Regions from separate parts of the Homo sapiens genome. Here region 1 is linked to region 2. Evidence: promoter capture Hi-C in human tissues and cell types (Jung and others, 2019). All regions are on one chromosome and are shown on one strand. Each heading gives the region's core, a stretch centred on a gene start or on the middle of the fragment in contact. The rest is flanking DNA. Distances are from core to core; before and after follow the strand shown.

The links. The method cuts DNA at HindIII sites, captures the fragments that hold promoters and counts their contacts. A contact is called where the count stands out against the background at its distance.
Region 1: a contact is called between a fragment that was not itself captured here and the fragment with the promoter of CDH5 in region 2, in 2 of the 25 tissues and cell types used here (liver and thymus).

Annotation. Positions count from the first base shown.
Region 1 is chr16:66,277,526-66,280,752 of GRCh38, reverse strand. No RefSeq gene overlaps it. Among named protein-coding and RNA genes, the nearest start is that of CDH5, 88 kb to the left of the region's middle. The HindIII fragment of the contact is 3,049 bases long and covers 418-3,227 here.
Region 2 is chr16:66,364,666-66,368,218 of GRCh38, reverse strand. It overlaps CDH5 (cadherin 5), which reads right to left and starts at 1,528. Exons shown (of 12, transcript NM_001795.5): 1 at 1,461-1,528. It overlaps LOC105371318 (a long non-coding RNA gene), which reads left to right. Exons shown (of 3, transcript XR_933687.3): 3 at 3,292-3,553. RefSeq lists enhancers at 1-275, 1,086-1,635. The HindIII fragment of the contact is 33,771 bases long and covers 1-3,553 here.

The DNA.
Region 1 (3,227 bases), core at 693-3,192, 88 kb after region 2:
CGTGTGCAGATGAGAAGAATGTGCATTATGTGGTTGACGGGTGGAGTAGCCTTTAGATGTCTATTAAGTACAATTGGTCAAGTGTCAAATTTAAGTCCAGAATTTCTTTGTTAGTTTTCTGTCTCAGTGGTCTGTCTAACATGGTCAATAGGCTGTTGAAATTTCTCACTATTATTGTGTGGCCATTTAAGTCTTTTTGTAGGTCTAGCAGTACTTTTTTTATGAATCTGAGTGCTGCAATGTTGGGTGTATGTATATTTAGGATAGTTAAGTCTTCTTGTTGAACTGAGCCCTTTATCAACATGTAATGCTCCTTGTTTGTCCCTTTTTTTTGTTTTTTTACTATTATTGGCTTAAAGTCTATTTTATCTGATATAAAAATAGCAACCCCTGCTTTTTTTTAAATTTTCCATTTGTATGATAGATCTTTCTCTGATCCTTTACTTTGAACCTATAGGTGTCATTCCATGTGAGGTGGGTCTCTTGAAGACAGTAGACAGATGGGTCTTTTTTTTTTTTTTTATCCAGCTTTTCACTCCGTGCCTTTTAAGTGGGGGGATTTAGACCATTTACATTCAAAGTTAATATTGATATGTGAAGTTTTGATCCTATTGTGAAGTTGTTAGCTGGTTGCTTTGTAGTTTCTATTGTGTGGTTGCTTTGTAGGGTCTGTGGGGTGTATACTTAAGTGTATTTTTGGGGTAGCACAAAAACATTTCGTTTCCATGTTTAGAACTCTCTTAAGGATCTCTTGTAAGGCTGGTCTAATGGTAATGAATTACATTAGCACTTGCTTGTCTGCAAAGGATTTTATTTGTCCTTCACTTGTGATGCTAAGTTTGGCAGGATATGAAATTCTTGGTTGAAATTTCTTTTGTTTAAGAATACTGAAAACAGGCCCCCAATCTTTCCTGGCTTGTAAGGTTTCTGCTGAAAAGTCTGATGTTAGCCTGATGGGGATCCCTTTGTATGTGATCTGACCTTTTTCTTTAGCTGCCTTTAAGACTTTTTGTTTAGCCTTGACCTTGACAGCCTAGTGATATATGCCTTGGTGATATTTGTTTTGTATAATATCTCACATGTGTTCTTTGGATTTCTTGTAACTGGATATCCACCTCTCTAGCAAGACTAGGGAAATTTTCTTTAGTTATTCCCTCAAATAATTTTTCCAGGTTGTTTACTTTTCTCCTTCTCTCTCAGGAATGCCAGTAATTTATAGATTTGATGGCTTTACATGATCTTATATTTATCAACGACTTTTAAAATTCTTTTTTCCTTATTTTTGTCTGGCTGAGTTAATTCAAAAGACTGGTCTTCAAGCTCTGAAATTCTTTCTTCTGCTTGGTCTATTCTATTGATAAAGTTTTCAACTGTATTTTCAAATTCTTTACATGAGTTTTTCAATTCTAGAACCTCTGATTTCTTTTTAAAGCATTTAAATCTTCCTTCATTTCCTGGATTGTTCTAGAAGCTTATTTGTGTTGATTTTCAACCCTGTCTTGGATCTCATTGAGCTTCCTTGCAATCCATGCTTTAAATTCTTTATCTGTCATTTCTGAGTTTCCATTTTGGTTAGGAACCATTGCTGGAGAGCTAGTGTGATGGTGATATCACTACATTCAGAATTTTTATGGTGCCAGAATTCTAGTACTGGCTCCTTCTCATCTGGAGGCATTGGCACTTCTAATTTTTGTAGTTATTTTCATGTGGATAAAACTTTTTTCTTTCTTTCCTTACAATTTTTTTTTTCTTTTCCCTTTTCCACCTCCCTAGGGGGTGTGACTGTAGAGAATGTTGAGTAGGGTCTTTTGGCTTTGCTTCTATAACTATAAGCACTTCTGCTAGCAGGTTTTATATTGGGCTGTGTGGTTTGACTTACAAACCAGTAGATGGAGCTTATGGGTAAGAGCTGGCTGTGGCCAGTGCAGCCAGGTGTATACCTGATCCTTGTTTACTGTGAGAAGCTCTCTGTTGCCTCAGGTAATGGGCTGATTCATGGAGTGCACAATGGCCTGAGCTCCCTGCTCAGGCCTAGAGGTTGGGGCCAAGATGATGAGCGTCAGACTGGGCAGGTCCATCTACAGGTCCCCAAGTGGCAAGCATAAGCACAAGTGCTGAGGGAAAATCCAGTGAGTGCCCACCAAGCACCCTAAGGTATGACTAGGCATGCATCTGGGAAACTTCCTCAGCCCCAATTCTCTGTATGGGAAGGGGAGCAGCCTACACTTCTAATCCAGGACAGTGGGTGCCCAGATGCCTGGAAATCTGCCTTGGCATGGAGGGGAGAAGGCCCTGCTCTGCCACAATCTCTGCACAGGAAGGGTGGGGGCAGTTCAGGCTGCTGGTCCATGTGACTGAGTGCTCTGAATGCCTGGGGTTCTTCTGCCTGGGTGTGGAGTGGAGAGGGCCTTGTGCAAGAAGGGTGGGGCAGCTCAGGTTGCCAATCCAGATAAACAGGTGCTCCAAATGCCTGCAGATCTGACTGGGTTTGGAGTATAGAGGGTCAAGCTGCACCACAATCTCTGCATAGGAAGGGTGGGGCAACTCAGGCTGCTGAGCCAGGTGAACGAGTGCTCTGAATGCCTGGAGATCTGCCCAGTCGTGAAGCAGAGAGGGCCTCCTGGTACCAGGATCTCTGCACAGGAAGGATGGGGTAACTCGGGCGGCTAATCTGTGGGAGCAGATGCTCTGAATGCCTAGAGAACAGCCTGGGTGTGGAGAAGAGAGGGTCCTACTGCACACAGTCCATTCCCAAGAAGGGTGGGGCAGCTCAGGCTGCTGGTCCAGGCAAGTGGGTGCTCTTAATGCCTGGCGCTCTACCGGGAGGTAGAGCAGAGAGGGCCCCACTGCACCATGATCCCAGGGAGCAGGCTGCGGCACCCAGAAGTGACACATGCAGACCAGACTGGTTCCAGGTTGCCAAGCTGGCCCTGGCTGCAGTTCTCATCACCCAGAAGAAACCATGCTGTAGTAGCTCTCCTCCCTCCCCAGGTCTGCAATGGAGAAAAGCACAATTCCAATGCTTACTGTTGAGGTGCTTTCCACAGTTCTGGCCATGGAGGCCTGTACCCTGGTCCAGAGCAAGTGCTCCAATCTCTGGCCTGAGACTAAAATGCCTGTGCAGCCACACTGCCAGGTTGCCAAAGAGTAACTGACTTTGTATACACTCATATTGAAAATGGCACCCTGCTCTCAGTTCCAGGTCTGGGAAAATGCCTGCAGCTTTT
Region 2 (3,553 bases), core at 279-2,778:
CCTGTGGCAAAAGAGCCTTCCAGGTACACCCTCGACTCCTCAAAGCTGCCTCCCTGGGAATGCCCTTCCTCTCTTGTCAGAATCCTATCTGCCCATCACACATGAGAAACGTCCACGCTGGGGAGGGAGCCTGACATGGAGCAGAGGCCCAGAGGTGCTCGCGATGTCCTCTCACTTGCACCCCCTTCCTCGTACCTGCTGGGCACCTGAGGACCCCTCCGTGATGGGGTTTGACCATACCTCAAGGGCCAAAATCTTTATCACATTCACAACCAGGATCGGCTCTGTGCTAGCTGGTAAATCCAGCCACTATTCCTTAAAGATCTCATGTTATGTGCCATTCCCAGCACCAGGGATGTAGCTCACTTCACTCAATTGACTGAGGAAACACTGTTTCCCCATTTCACAGATGAGACACTTGAGACCTGGGGAGAGCTGGGGCTTTGGAGTACGAGATCCTGGTTCAAATCCCCACACCAGCTCATATGTTTCCAAAGCTCAGTTGCTTTCACTGAGATATAAAGAAAGAATGTATCTACCTTGTGGAGTTGTTAATGGTAAAATAATGAGCCCCACACCATCCCTTGTTCCCCACTGTGGTTTGGAAACTCTGGGTAACTTTCCCAAGGTCACCCCAGAGCAAATGGGAGAGCTGGGATCTGTACCCAGGGCAGCTGTCTCCAGGCCAGGCTCTTGGCCCAGACCTCCTGCTTCTGGGGGACTTCCTGGGCTGTGGGGGCCTTGGGGCTCTTATGCTCTAGCCTTTGAAAGGGTGCTGGTGGGAGGAATGGTGGACCGCTGTCCAGACTACAGCTCCCTTGACACATAGTGGGCCCCGATGGTGTTTGGGCAGGGAAAGGCCCAGAGGGAAAGGCAAGACCTCAAGTGCCCAGAGCCAAGCCTCAGCTTGCCTATCCTGAAATGGGGGCACTGGCTGACCGAGAGGGGCCAAGGCTCGGAGCTTCCTTTTCAGGGCCCCTCCCCAGATCCCAGCATAGAGCTTTAGTGGCGTATGGGTAGGGGGCTGAGGAGGCTGGTGTCAGGCCTTGGTAAATCCTCTCCAGTAAGGGTAAGGCACCGAGGGGAGGCCAAGGCCTGGGTGCCAGTCCTCTGCCCCGGCATGCTGGGCAACTGGGGCAGAATACTGCCCTCTCTGAGCCTGGCACTGATGAAGGCCAGTGGGCCTTTTTGAGTTGGAGAATACACTTCTGGGAGAGCCAAGCCCTTGCCCTGCCCCCCTCAGCCCCGAGATGCCCATTTGTGCCCTTGGCACTACCTCTGGGTGCACCTTCCCCGACCCTGCTCTGAGCCACGAGGAGGCCCAGCGTGCCCTCGAGGAGCCTCTCTGTCATGGGAGTGGGACGATGCCCATTCTACAGATGGGGAAGCTGAGGACCCTCCCATCTTGGGCGCAGGGTGGCGGGTTTGGGGTGGAGGGGAGTGTGGGAGCCCCCACTCACCGTGCCTGTGGGCTGAGGGATGTTTCTGTTCCGTTGGACTGCCTGTCCGTCCAGGGCTGAGCGTGAGTGGAGCTCTGTGGAGCCTGTCAGCCGACCGTCTTTGGAGGGGAGCCACACCCCGCTGGCGAGGGAGGCCTGGCTGCCTCCCCTTCAGGTTTTCCAGCTGGCCCTGGCCCACTTCCCCCTGGGATGGTTTCCTGTTATTGTTCCTTTGTGAGGGCTGGGCTGGCTGCAGATAGGCAGGCCCTGCGGTGGGCGGCTGCCTCGGCCCCGGATGGCTGTCTCCACAGAGGGCTGGCACTGGACCCTGCCTGGGGCACCCCACTTGAACCCCTACTCCCGGCCTCAGCTCTGGGACTCTGAACCCAGCACCTGCAAAGAGCCTGGCTGTGGGGACCCTTGGCTGCAGCATCACATTTAACCCTCCTTGGAATGCTACAGGCAGGTGTCATCACCCCCATTTTATAGCCCGGGAAGCTGAGGCTCAGCGGGTTTAAGGTGCTTGTCCACCCAGCTGGGGTATAAAAGAGCCAAAAATCTAGCTGGGGTCAGCCTAGCCCCAGAGCTTGATTTTCTGTGGTGATCCCATGATGTCTTTGTGGGAATGGACTTTAAAGGTGACAGGGAGGCTTCAGGAGATGGGAAAGGGACAGAAGCTCTTGGCTCTGGAGGACCAGGTTGGCTTCTCCTGGTCAGAGCGGGCATGGACTCCAGCTCTAAGGTGCCAGCCTCGGTCTGTAGGGGATGTTTGCATTTAGGGATATTGGGTGGAGTCAAGTGACCCAGCTCTGCTTCTGATGTGACCTCTGGCCAGTTGTGTCATCCTGGAGCCACAGTTTCCTCATCTGTAAAATGGGGATAATCACAGCCTCATCCTCACAAGGCTTTTGACATAAACGAGAATCAAAGAGGGGCGTGGAAGACAGTGACGCTGAGGCTGGATCAGAGCCCAGAAGAACCAAGAGGCTGGGGGGAAGGGAGGGGCCAAGATTCTGCTGACCAGGAGAGACATAGGAGGAGCTTCTAAAAACTACAGAGGACTGGGCTCACCCCAGATCAACTGATTTGGAATCTCCCAGGGCAGATCCTGGGAATCTGTCCTTTGAAGAGTTGCTTCTGTTTTTCCATGGGTGAATGGTTGGGAAGTCCCAAACTTGTTTTATTATATAGCTGGGCAAGCAGAGACCCTGAGAAAGAGAGGGCCCAGGGCCGTTTAGTAAATCAGAGCACAAGATGGGGAGTGTGATGGAAGGATATTTTTGGAGGAGGAGGGGATAGTGATTCCTCTGTCTCAGGCAGGTTGAGTTTGAGATGCTCGTTAGATACCCAGGTGGAGGTGTCAGGCTGGTGGGGGAGACAGGGGTGAGTCCAGCCTGGAGTCGAGGTTTGGAACCCAACAGCTTATGGCTGGCATCTGAGGCCATGGGCATGGATGAGCTTGGAGGGAGGGAGGACTTGGACCCTCTGACATTTGGGGATCCATTAGAAGAGGGTCCCATGATGAAGGAGGAATGCCAGGAGAGGGCAGAGGAGGAGGGCAGGGGAGTAGTCAGTGGGTCAGCCTGGGGAGCATGAGGGCTGAGACTTAACTTTGGATTTGGAAGATGAGGTCATCAATGACTGTGACCAGAACAGGTTAAACAGGAAAAGGTAGACAAGACAGATTGGAGGGGCTAGAGAAAGGGGAGAAAGGGGGACGGGGATGTGGAGTCACGTGTGACTGTAGCTTCTTCCCCAAGTCTTACAGTGAATGGGAGCAGAGAAGTGGGAGGGTTTTTTTTTTTTTTTTTTTTTTTTTTTTTTAACTATGGCAGCACGCTCATGTCCCCAGGGAGCATCCAGCAGACGGGAAGACAGATGATGCTGGAGACTGAGGAGCGACCTGCTGGAAGGAGAACAGTCCTTGGGGCGGAATTCTGAGTGGGATCCAACACATTCAACAGCCGATTGTGGAATGAACAAACAACAGCTCAGCGCTTCCTTCTCCAATGGGATTAACTCTGCTTTCTCCTGCCCAGAGGGGGGGTTGGCCGCAGAGGAGCCAGGACAGTGCTCTGTCCCCTGTGTTCCAGTCCACATCCCCCTCACCCCCG